2 separate regions of the Homo sapiens genome follow, and region 2 is linked to region 1. The links are contacts of gene promoters, found by promoter capture Hi-C in human tissues and cell types (Jung and others, 2019). All regions are on one chromosome and are shown on one strand. The core of a region is centred on a gene start or on the middle of the fragment in contact, and the rest is flanking DNA. Distances in the headings are between cores, read along the strand shown. Region 1 holds the start of CEACAM3 (CEA cell adhesion molecule 3). Region 2 holds the start of CEACAM4 (CEA cell adhesion molecule 4).

Region 1 (6,047 bases), core at 1,387-3,886:
ACAGCCCCCCATGATCCAATCGCCTCCCACCAGGCCTCACCTCCAATGTTGGGGATCACATTTCAACATGAGATTTGGAGAGGATAAACATCCAAACTATATCAGGAAAAATTGATTAATTTTCCATTTGCCCCTTACTCTCCAGACCAAAATCTCCCCCTCTGAGATGTGGATGCCCAAGAAAAAGGAAAGAGAACTTAGGACTGGTCTCAGGCCTGCAGATGTCTAATAATAACGCCAGCCGTCCCCTGGTGGAGAAGAGGCAGCTGTGGCTGCAGAGAGACCTCGTGTGACTCTAATCTGACACCTTTGACTTGTGTGACCCTAGTCGGTGACTGTCTCCCTGTTCCTCAATTTTTTTTTTCAATAAGTAGGATAAGTGCTATTTGGCTGTGACGTTGTTTGTGAATTAATCTCAAAATATTTACAATTACTTGACCTCAGCTGTGTATAGAGGAGCTGCCCAAAGGAACAGCATCTATGCTTATTTGCCTCCAAAAGAGAGGTCCCTGAGTCTGATCCCTTGTGGAAAAGGAGCTGCTGGGAGCATCTTCTCTCTTCTTTTTCCTCCCCCTGGGGATACTGAACTTCCCATGGAGTCATCTAAGTTCCCCTGGGCAGTGGGCTCATGCCCTAGTAATCTTGTCCATCTGTTCACTCCATGCTGAGTCTCAGGTAAAGGATGAGGCCCTGTCCTTGCCCAGGAGAGGTTCTTGGGGCTGGACCCTGGCTGGTGACCAACTCCAGGAGCCACGACCCTCAGACAGCTGGTAAATTCTTGCTCCCAGTCAGCCCTGCCCAGGAGGCCTCACTCAGCCCTGGCACAGGATCCCTAGGGTCCCCAGGGTCACCTGGAGTCAGGAATCTGGGACAGGGATTTGCACAGGGGCTCAGTTCTGGGAAGAGTTGAGCTTCTCTCTGAGAATCCTAGGGGGACCCCTCAGGCCAGGCCCTGATCCAGTTCTCCAGGGTCTTTCTTAGGGTCAGGTCCATGGGGAGACCATGGGGTTCTTTTCTGACACTGACCTTGCCCTGCTGAGTCCCCCCATCAGACTGTCCTTCCTCTGCAGCGAGTGTCTGCAGGGTCTGGATGCAGGAAAGGAATTCTGATCTGTGGAAGTTTGTCTCCCCCGTGTGTGTCCTGCACTAAATGTCCAAACCCTGATACAGAATGTAATGCAGAGAGGGCCACAGGCACAGCCCAGGCCTGACAATCCCATATGTGGGAAGTAGAACTGACCCCCAACACCCAGAGGTCATGTGGAAATACTCACGGTATACATGGAACTGTCCAGTTGCTTCTTCATTCACAAGATCTGACTTTATGACTTGTAGGGTGTAGAATCCTATGTCATTCTGGGTGACATTCTGGATCAGCAGGGATGCATTGGTGTATATTGTCTCTCGACCGCTGTATGCGGCCCCTGGGGTAGCTTGTTGAGTTCCTATTACATATCCTACAATTAGACTGTTGCCATCCACTCTTTCCCCTTTGTACCAGCTGTAGCCAAAAAGATGCTGGGGCAGATTGTGGACAAGTAGAAGCACCTCCTTCCCCTCTGCGACACTGAGCGGCATGGATTCAATAGTGAGCTTGGCAGTGGTGGGCGGGTTCCAGAAGTTTAGAAGTGAGGCTAGGAGGGAGAAAGCATCAGTCAATATTGGGACCCATGTATTGGGATGGAAAGATGGGGCCCTGGGTCCTGAGAGAGTCTCTTCACCCTTCAGCCTTGGAGAGTGTATGTGTGTCCCACTTGGTCAAGGTCAGTAACGTGACCTTTCTTTCTTCAGCACCTCTAACCTTGGCATTTTCCTGTGTGGAATCCCCTTCCCCAGGGGTCTGCATGGCTCCCTCCCCACTGCCCTCAGATCCTGCTCACATCAGGGCATCCTTGGGAGATCCCTCCCCTGACACCTCCTCTAGAGACCCTGGGTCTTCCCTTTCTGACCTTTTTCTGCTCTGTTCCCTCCAGGGCTCTTGTCAACACCTGAACTCACATTCTAGATCTCTTTGGGTGTCTATCTTCATCTCTGCAAGAGTGTAAGCTCTTTGAACACAGAGACTTGTCTGATATTTGTTGTACGCCAGTGCCTAAAATTTGATTGCAAATACTGGTGGATGAGTTAAGGAGTGGTGGTTATTTTGCAACTTGTGGTTGGTGGTCAAAGACAGGTTTTAGTGCCCTGGTTATATTTTTATTTAAAGTATCACCCTGATGTAATTCTTATTCTTATCATTTTCTAATTGTAGTGGCCAGTAATGATTAACTTGGAAAACATGATCAATGGATTTTCCTCCCTCTTATCAATCCCAGTTCAATGTGATTGTCTTGTTGTGACCCGTGTCCCTCTCTGATGTTCTCTCCCCTGAGGCTTCAGCAGAAGCCTTCTGTCCCCTATCAGAGCCCCATCCTCCCCAGGAGACCCCAGCCATTCTCTGTGATCCCTCCTCTTGCCCACTCCCAGGAATCCTCCACTCACCTGTGAGCAGAAGCCCCTGCCAGGGGATGCATTCTCTGTGGGGAGAGGCTGAGGGGGGCCCCATGGTCTCTGCTGCCTGCTCTTTCCTCCTCTGTGGAAAAGAGCCTGGGCTCCAGGAATGCTGTAGTCAGGGCTACTGTGACTTAGGCTCTGCTGTCCTTCCTCTTTCCATGCTGAGCCTCCTCCCAGGGCAGGAGCACTTTCCAGGGTCATGGGTGAAGCTCTGCCCAGGTCACCTCTCTGTCCCCTCCCCTCTCAGTTTTGCCTCATTTTCTCTTCTTCCTTTCTCCCTTCTGTCTACATTTGAGTTCCCCAGACCAGGCTCTGAGAAGCAAGGCTTACTTGGATCCCTGTTTCATAACAGGATGACCCTCCCTCCCCAGCGTGGACCTCTGCTCTGCCTTGGCCTTGGGTCTGTCAGCACCATGCAGAGTCCCTGGGGTCCCTGAACCTGGTGTTATTTTCTCTGTGACGGAGAAACTCCTTTGTGTGTGCAGGGTCTTCTTACTGTTCTCACATGTCTGGGAAGGTTGGATTTACTCCCAGCAAGGAGGTCACAGAGATGTCTGGGGTCCTACAAATGGATATATCTAGGGCTAAAGCCCGGATCTAAGATTCTGAGCTGTTCTTTCTGCAGCATTATGTGACTCTAATTTCCTGGGAGTAACTGAGAATGAGGCTTCACAGTGCTGTAGCTTTATGTCATCCAGACACCAGACATTTCTAGGCTGACTTTATGATTTTCTCTCTAGCTTGTACCACCTTTATTATTATATATTTCATCCTTTTTTCTAAATAAATTTAGTTTACAAAACATCCTGTCCTAGCAGGGATCGGTGGCTCAGATCTGTGATCCCAGCTACTCGAGAGGCTATGGTGGGAGGATGGCTTGAGGCCAGGAGTTGGAGACAAAACATCCTTGTCTTATGCAATATTGTCCATGAAATTACAGATTTGATGTGTGCTTAAATGTTTTCTCAATGTATATTAAAATAAACGCATAAGTATTAAAGTTTTTAAAAAGCTTACTTACGTTTCGCCTAAAATCAGTTTTTGGAAATGCTGACACAGTGGCATAAACATGAACTTTATGTCCAGATGTACCTGGGGACAGCTAATGGTTCTGTCACTTAACTATGTTGACTTGGACAAGTCACGTGGCTTCTATGATCCTTGATTCCCTGATTTGTAAAAGGAGGATGGTAAAATCCTCCTTGCAGAGTTGTTGGGAATAAGTGAGCTGCTGTGGGAGCCCCGTGCCCAGGCGGGTGTTGAGTACATGGTGGTTGTCATCGTGGTTATTGCTGTGGAATTCTGGTTTTCAAAGAGTGTCTACGCCGGAATATTGGGCTTGTGGCTTTCTGCTGATGTGGATGTGTGAAAAAGCTACTTTTGCTTGTTAGAACTTGTGGTGCATCTGTCATTATTTTCATTTCCCAGTTCCACTACCTATTTTCTCTGTGATGTTGGTCAAGTTGCCTAACTTTTCTGTGCCTCATTTACCTAATTTGTGAAATGTGGGTAACAGTACACTAGTGTGGGTGTGTTATTTCCCAGCTCTGACCACTAGAGGGCATAGAAGCACCGGCACCTACTAGCAATGGGCATATGGGCGCCCATGGTCTGTAAACATCATTCTCCCATGAAAGGAACCAGGGTTCCCTGGAGAAATGGCTGATTCCAGGGCTGGGGCAGGAAACCACAAGAGGAGACTGGAGCATCTTGCGGGGCCTGAGAGTAAGGCACAACTTGAAAAATGATGGGGATGTGTGGAAAGTATCACAAATGCCAACTAGAAGAAGCTCCCAATGGCCAATTTGGGGACAATATAGCAACATAATCAATAATAATAGTAATGTAGTCCAACCGATAAATACTTGAGAGTCCATGCTGATATATATATAAATAAGTGAATACATAAATAAATGAGAAAGAAGAACTAGCTCTTTCTTACAGCAGCGTTCCAGTTAATCAGTGTAGAAGCAATGATGGAAGCAGAAAATCACTGGCTAACACCACAGTAAGAATTGTTTATCGGCTACAATTATCTCTGGATTCTAGAAATTAATTGGTAAAAGTATGCTAAGAACAAACTGGCTATTTGCATATTTCCAAAGTACCTGTCCACAAGATACTTATTAATTACAATGAGATGAATAGTAACTTCACAGTAGAGAAACCTGGCAGACACCACCTGAACCAAGCGCTTAAAGTGAACCTCATCGGTAATGAGAGATATAGACATCCTGGGGCTCCGGCTGGGATGTCCTGAGAAAGACACATCGCTTCTGTGCTAATCTTGCCCAAAATGCATAACCTGAAACATCCCAAGGAAACATGAGACAAACCCAAATTGAGGGGCATTCTACAAAACAACTGACCAGACCTCCTCAAAAGCATCAAGGTCCTGAGAGAGGGAAAGAGTGGGAAACTCCCCCAGGTTGGAGGAGGCCTAGGAAATGTGACAGTGTTATTCAGTGTGGGATCCTGGGTTGGACTCTGGAGCAGAAAAAAGACATGACTGGGATGATTAGCAAAATTTTAATATTTCTTTTTTTTTTTTTTGGAGACAGAGTCTCACTCTGTCGCCAAGGCTGGAGTGCAGTGGCTCGATCTGGGCTCACTGCAACCCCCACCTCCTGAGTTCAAGAGATTCTCCTGCTTCAGCCTCCCGAGTAGCTGGGATTACAGGTACCTGCCACCACGCCTGGCTAATTTTTGTATTTTTAGTAGAGACGGGGTTTCATCGTGTTAGCCAGGATGGTCTCGATCTCCTCACCTCGTGATCTACCCTCCTTGGCCTCCCAAAGTACTGGGATTAAAGGCGTGAGCCACCGTGCCCGGCCCCATATTTCTATATTTTAAAATTTTTTGTATCAATGCTAGGTGACTGATTTTGATAATTGCTTTAGAGTTAAGGTTATTTGAAAAAGCTGGATGAAGGATATACTGGAACTCTGACTATTTTTACAATATTTTTGAAAGTCTGAAAAATGAAAAGTAAAAAAATGTAAAATGCATAAGATTTCTGTGAGGATAAAATGAGATAAATGTGAAGTGCTTAGAACAATGCCTGAGACACAGGAGTTCTTAAAACATGTCAGCTATTATTATAAGTAATTTTATGATTAACAAGTAATATTATAAGTAATGAGTCATCTATTATAAATCATATAAAATATGATTTCTTTCATAATATCCTCATATATTCTCATCCATTTCTTTTTTCCCTCTCCCCTGTGAAAAGCATATTGAGCATGTATGTCATGAAAAGATAAAATAAGATTCGATTTTATTTTGAGAATTATTTTGGGGGATGAGGAGGAGTGTCATTTCCTCCAGCTACGAAGTAGCTCAGACTCAGGCCCACATTGCAAAGTTTGCTTGGCTGGGAAACAAAGCTGGAGCCTGGCGGCCACCCACCGACGTGGTTTATGATGGCGCCTCCTGGCGGCGCAGAGAACTTTCCGCAGTTCCTCACCCTCGTGCTTTAGGAGCGACTTAGAAATTCTACACAGTCCATTTATTAAACCCTTTCTAGGTCACGCTGCGGATCATTTAATCTT
Region 2 (6,047 bases), core at 3,548-6,047, 170 kb after region 1:
AAACCACACATAGGCTATATGTTGTTTATGCCATATAATTTAAAAACACTACGGAGGAGTTTCCGCATCAGTGGCTAAAACAATTCCCTGTTGGTTACATATCTGCCTCATATTCCATTGTGTAAATGTATATAACCTGTTTAACTATGCTAATGTAAATGTAGGTTGTTTTCAGTATTTTGCTGTTAAGCCATCACTGCCATGAGAAACCGTGATTAGGTGTCATTTTTCATGAGTGTGTGATAAATTCCTTGCAGTGCAGTTTGGGAGGCAAAGAGAATGCATATGTTAAATTTTGATAAGTGTTGACAAATTTGATGCCACACAGTTGGTACAAATTTTCATGTCACCCAACAAAGTTAGGAAGTACAATTTTTACCAAAGTTCTTCCCACACGTTGTGTTATCAAATGGAATTTTTCAGCATTTAAAACCACTGGGCCATATTATGATCCTCACCTTTCCAGGATAATATCAATGTCCGTTTCTCCTGCATGTGTGCGGGTATTTTGTTCATATGTCTACGAATCATTCAAATTGTTTTTTCTTCTGTAAACTGTTTATATATTTGCCTACTTTTCTACTAGACTTCAGTCTTTTTAATTTTATTTATTCTTTAAGTATTAACAGATGTGAAAGTTGTCAGAGTCAAAATGAGTCACTAGTGTGAAAAAAAACTCTGACAAATAGAGCCAGAGAAGACCATGAAGAGAGGATCCTCATGCCTGATAACAAAACTATCACAAAAGACTCTGCAAAAGCCACAAGTTTATACAAAGGCCATCACAACCTTATATGAAAACTACTTCTGCAAGGACATCTGCCCAGCAACTGCCTATAGAACCTCACAGTGGCATCATTCTGGCTATTGATCTTTGTAGCTAGTTTTTTTTTTTTTTTTTCAAAATGACTAGATAATAATCCCAATTTTTTCCTTTAAAAACTCGAATATGTAGATCATTTTACTATGGCACATGCATTTCCATTGAAATGTGCTACTCCCAAATAAACATCAGTTTCTCATAGAAAGCCTCACTCTGTTTGTTACCATATATGGTGTCAGAAGTGGGATCTGGGAAAGATCACTATCAGAAGAAATCTGTGATCTTTGAACCAGTGTGCACTACTCACTTGAGAAGTTTGAGCTCTCTGCTTCCACACTCACCTTTCCTGCCCTGACAAGTCTTTGCTCAAGCAGAGCCTCTTTTTGGTAGAAGCTCTTGACTTTATTTGGAATCTGATTTGGATAAGGCTGCCTTAGTAAAAGACCATACATTTCTCCTGGGATGATAAAAAAAAAAAAAACTTTTTGTCTTTTCTAGCAAGTCCTTTCTGAGAGAAAGGCGTATATCTTTCTAGATCACGTACTCTGGATTCTACAAAATTTACATTCTGCCTGTGAGGCAAGTCTATTCTGGTGAATTTACTTCCATTTTGGCCTGTGTGCCTAATTTAAATACTTTAAAAATCTGCATGCCTGGGTTAAAATTCTTGTGAATGCTCTTATCTGGATTTCTTTTTATTTGGTTTGACTCTTTTCCCCTTGCTTGCTTCTGAAAATCATCCCAGAACACAAAAAAATAGACATTCTAAATGACGGGCACAAAATGGCTAATTAACAGCCACTAGCGTGGTTGCCACCATCTAAAACACTGGTACAAATGCCTGACATTCTCTGGCAGGATTTGTAAAATTTTCTTCACTTTCAAGAGATTAATAAGAAATGGAATGGGGCTCTCAAGCATTAAGGCATGCCAGGTTTTCTGGGGCTCCAGCTGGCTACATTTTATGGTTCTTTCTTGTGCACATTTTAAAGTTTATGAGCAAAATTACATCAAGGAAAATTCAGTACTCAATGATCATCATTCAACCTGTTTTAAAAAGCCCTGCATCTATAGGGTGGAAATGTAGAGTCTTCTAAATTCTCTATTTTTTTTTCTCTACCTACTTTGAATCTGCTGACTTTTCTACTGGTGTTGAGATAAAACTCACTGCTTATGGCATTCTAGCCCAGAGTTTTAAAAAAGAAATCTTGAAGGGCTTTAAAATTAATGGCTTTACAAATTAAACAACTCCATGATAAGAAACAACTTAGACACCTTTAGGAAATGTAAATTTAAGTTTGTCTAACTAATAATTGCTTATAATGGAGCACAATTAAAAATCAATAATTAAAAAAATACATGGTTATAAAAGTTAGGCTCTCAGATCATACAGGTCAAAATCTTGAACTCAGAGCAATAATTTAAGGTGTCTCTGTCCGACATAAACTTTTTTCTTCTTTTGCCATGCAGAGGCAAAAAAGAAAAAGCCAGGAAAAAAAGCTAAAATCCTTCCTCATCCACATTTGTTAATCAAGCAAACCACATCACCACCACCCGCCCCCCTCCAACCCACACAAAAAATCTAGTTTAAGGCTAGTTGGAGATTTTTTTTTCTTATACAATTCAGCCAGTTCTAGCTAAAGTGTAAGCAATTGAAAATTTAATCCTAAACTCATGTGAAACAGAAAAAAAAAAGATGCTGAAACTGTAGAGGTTTCATTTGTTTATTTGTTTATAAGTTACACTGCCATTAGAAACTGCTTTACCCAAAATATTTCCCCCAGCCTTCATTATATTACCTATAGGGGCAAATAAAGTTTATCCATGTTAACGATTCCAATTTGTCAGAAATACAATTGGATCCAGTTGACTTTAATCAACTAGTGAGTTTGTATTACTATCTCATCACTAAAATTCTAAAATGAAAGCTGTAAGATTTTTATTTGTTTGTGGATATGTGTTTAGGTGTGTTTTTGCATATGTACATGTATTATGGTCTATATTGTGTCTACATGACAAAATCCACCTTAGTTGGCCAGAAACGCCTTAATAAACTCTATTTGCATTTCCTTAGAGAAATGAGCATAAGAACATGGCTTTTACCCTAGTAGCATCGGGAGGGAATTCAGGGTCTTTCTAACAGTGAGGGGCAAACCCAATTCATTCCCTGACATCATTCACTGACATTCCCTCCAGGCTCTAACATATGTCTTTCTCACAAACACACCAAAACTGACACAAACTCCGGATATTCGATCCCAGGTGGATCTTCCACCAGGGCAGAATGACCACAAGAAAGTCAGGGAGTGATTCCCCAGCCTCGAGATCCCCAGTATTTGGGACATCTGCCTATGGTCCCTGCAGACATTTCACCAGGGGATCCAGGGGAACTTCTCCTGCAGGAGGGGACAGGATAACCCAGGATCTGCCTTTGTTTCCATCTCAGAGGGACTGAGGGTCACGGGGCCTCCCCTGCTCTAATACAGGAACCAGGTATCCCTTGCAGCCTGCAGGTAGGAGCTGCCCCAGCTCCTGGGCCCTGTGGAGAGGCCTGGGGCAGGTGACAGACAGGGACACAGATGACCTGGAGGCGGAACTCCCAGTGTTGTGATGGAGGAACACAGAACACACCGAGGACCACCTCCCAGGCCAGTGCCCTCTCTCTAAACCCCCAGAGACACCTCCCTGGGCCCTTCTTTTGAAACCTTGGGGACGGATGGCTCTTTCTGAGGCAGCCCATCCGCCTGCAGGACAGTTCTCCCAAATCAGGACCAGGAGTGCTCTGGACAACTCTCGTCCTCTCCCTGAGCTCATCCTGCACTGCATGGAGTTGGACATCCTGGGGACCCACAGTGAACAGGACCAAGGATGACCTGACCCTGCAGTCTGGAGGTCAGAGCCCACCTCTGCCCAGGGGCCAGGGCCAACTCATACCACGTGGACCCTGGTCAGCATCCCTGGGGAAGCCCCTGACTTTTACCACAGGGTTCCTCTTGCTCTCCAGGGGCAACATTGCACGCAGACAACACAGGAAATGGATTCCCCTGGACAGGAATCTGGCTTTGCTAAGGAGGTGGAGGTGAAGCCTGGTTTCCATACTTTGCTCCAGCAGGCCCTTCCAGTCCCTCCCATGTGCCTGCTCTGTCTCTCCTGATCCTTCCTGGAGCCTCTGAGGATCCTGCTCTGCCAGGATTCTCTGCTCAGTTCTCCACTTTCTCCTGGTATCATGCATGGGGAAGGTACAGTGACAACAGGACAATCACCTTCACAGAGGACAGAGGCCACCCGGGATGGTAAGGGAGAACATGCACAGGCCCTAAGCCACAGCTCAGCCAACAGAAACGGAGAGGGAGGATCTCCCTGAATCCCTCCTCAAGGACAGCAGAACCCAGAGCCACCCACCTCCCTCCACCACAGTCCTCTCTTCCCAGGACATGCAGGACACCTCCCTCCACATCCAGGAGCTGGGGATCCTCCTGAGACCCCCAGGCCTGGATCTCTGTCCCTGGGTCAGAGGCAAGGCTGGTGACACTGGAGAGAGAGGACTGGTCCCCCCCGTAGTCGCCCCCCATTTTCTATCCCACAGAGCCACCTCTGTCACCTTCCTGCTGGGTATCATCTCACACTCCCTGAGTATTGGGGAGCATGAGGAGACCTGGGGGCCCAGCTGGGTCTCTGTGTCACAAAAGGAAACAGTTCCCCAAGTTTGGGAGACCCCAGAGTACCTCTGTTTGTGGTGACATTCCCAAAGGGTCAGTGCAGGGGTGACAAGTCACCCTCTCTGGGGACAGGGGACTCCACCAACCCTGCTTCTCAAAGTGTGGTTAGGAAACTGTAATGTACACAGAAGAGAAAGGGGAAGGAGGGACAAAAAAGGCAGAAATGAGAGGGGAGGGGCAGAGGGGTGACCTGGGAAGAGCCCCGCCTCTGCCCCTGGCCCTGGGAAGTGCTTCTGCCCGGGAGGAGGCTCAGCACAGAAGGAGGAAGGTCAGCAGCCCCGACAGCCGACAGTCACAGCAGCTCTGACAAGAGCGTTCCTGGAGCCCAGCTCCTCTCCACAGAGGACAAGCAGGCAGCAGAGACCATGGGCCCCCCCTCAGCCGCTCCCCGTGGAGGGCACAGGCCCTGGCAGGGGCTCCTGATCACAGGTGAGGGGAGGACTCTCTGGGAGTGGTGGGAAGAGGGAGCACAGAGACTGACTGGGGTCTCTTGGGTAGGAGGGGATAGAGGGCTTCTGGCTGGGGTCTCCTGGGGCTCTGAGAGGGGACTGAGGGCCTCTGTTGGAGGCTGGATAAGGGAGAGAACATCAGAGAGGGGCAGGGGTCACAACAGGAAAATCTCAGTGAACTGGAATTGGTAAAAGGCAGGAAAATCTCAAGTGTTCTCTCGTCCTGGTTAATCATCACTGGCCACTACATTTTGAAAAATGATAATAACTATACCAGATGACACTTCAAATAAAAACATAACCAGGGCATAAAACACTGCTCTTAGCCAACAACCTCAGACACTGGGAAATAAACCTCAGGACTTGGAGGCCCTGAGAATGCTCATGAACTCATCTACAGGAGTCTGCAGCCTGTGCCAGGCACTGGGGTGCAACCAAGATCACACAAGTCCCCGCCCTCACAGAGCTCACGCTCTCATGGGGAGGAAGACAAACACCTAAAGAGATCTAGAATGTGAGGTCAGGTGCTGACAAGAGCCCTGGAGGGAACAGAGCTGGGAAAGGTCAGAAAGGGAAGACCCAGGGTCTCTAGAGGAGGTGTCAGGGGAGGGGTCTCCCAAAAACACCCTGATGTGAGCAGGATCTGAGGGCAGTGGGGAGGGAGCCGTGCAGACCCCTGGGGAAGAAGATTCCACCAGGGAAATGCCAAGGTCCAAGCTGTTGAAGGAATGGGGGTCATGCTGCTGACCCAGGGACACACACACACACACACACACACACACACACACACACACACACACACACACACACACACACTCCAAGGCTGAGGGATGAGGAGACCTGCTGAGGACCCAGGGCCTTATCTTTCCATCCCACTCCATAGGTCCCAGTATTGACTGATGCTGTCTTCACCTCCTAGCCTCACTTTTAACCTTCTGGCACCCGCCCACCACTGTCCAGTTCACTATTGAAGCCCTGCCGTCCAGTGCTGCAGAGGGAAAGGATGTTCTTCTACTGGCCTGCAATATTTCAGAAACTATTCAAGCCTATTATTGG

The links. Contacts are between HindIII fragments. The study calls those that stand out against the background at their distance.
Region 2: the fragment with the promoter of CEACAM4 here is called in contact with the fragment with the promoter of CEACAM3 in region 1 in 1 of the 25 tissues and cell types used here (H1 embryonic stem cells).

The regions. Positions count from the first base shown.
Region 1 is chr19:41,793,176-41,799,222 of GRCh38, reverse strand. CEACAM3 (CEA cell adhesion molecule 3) reads right to left here and starts at 2,636. Exons shown (of 7, transcript NM_001815.5): 1 at 2,482-2,636; 2 at 1,275-1,634. The coding sequence starts at 2,545. The HindIII fragment of the contact is 7,198 bases long and covers 1-5,574 here.
Region 2 is chr19:41,625,824-41,631,870 of GRCh38, reverse strand. CEACAM4 (CEA cell adhesion molecule 4) reads left to right here and starts at 4,797. Exons shown (of 7, transcript NM_001817.4): 1 at 4,797-4,971; 2 at 5,911-6,047. The coding sequence starts at 4,908. The HindIII fragment of the contact is 12,628 bases long and covers 1-6,047 here.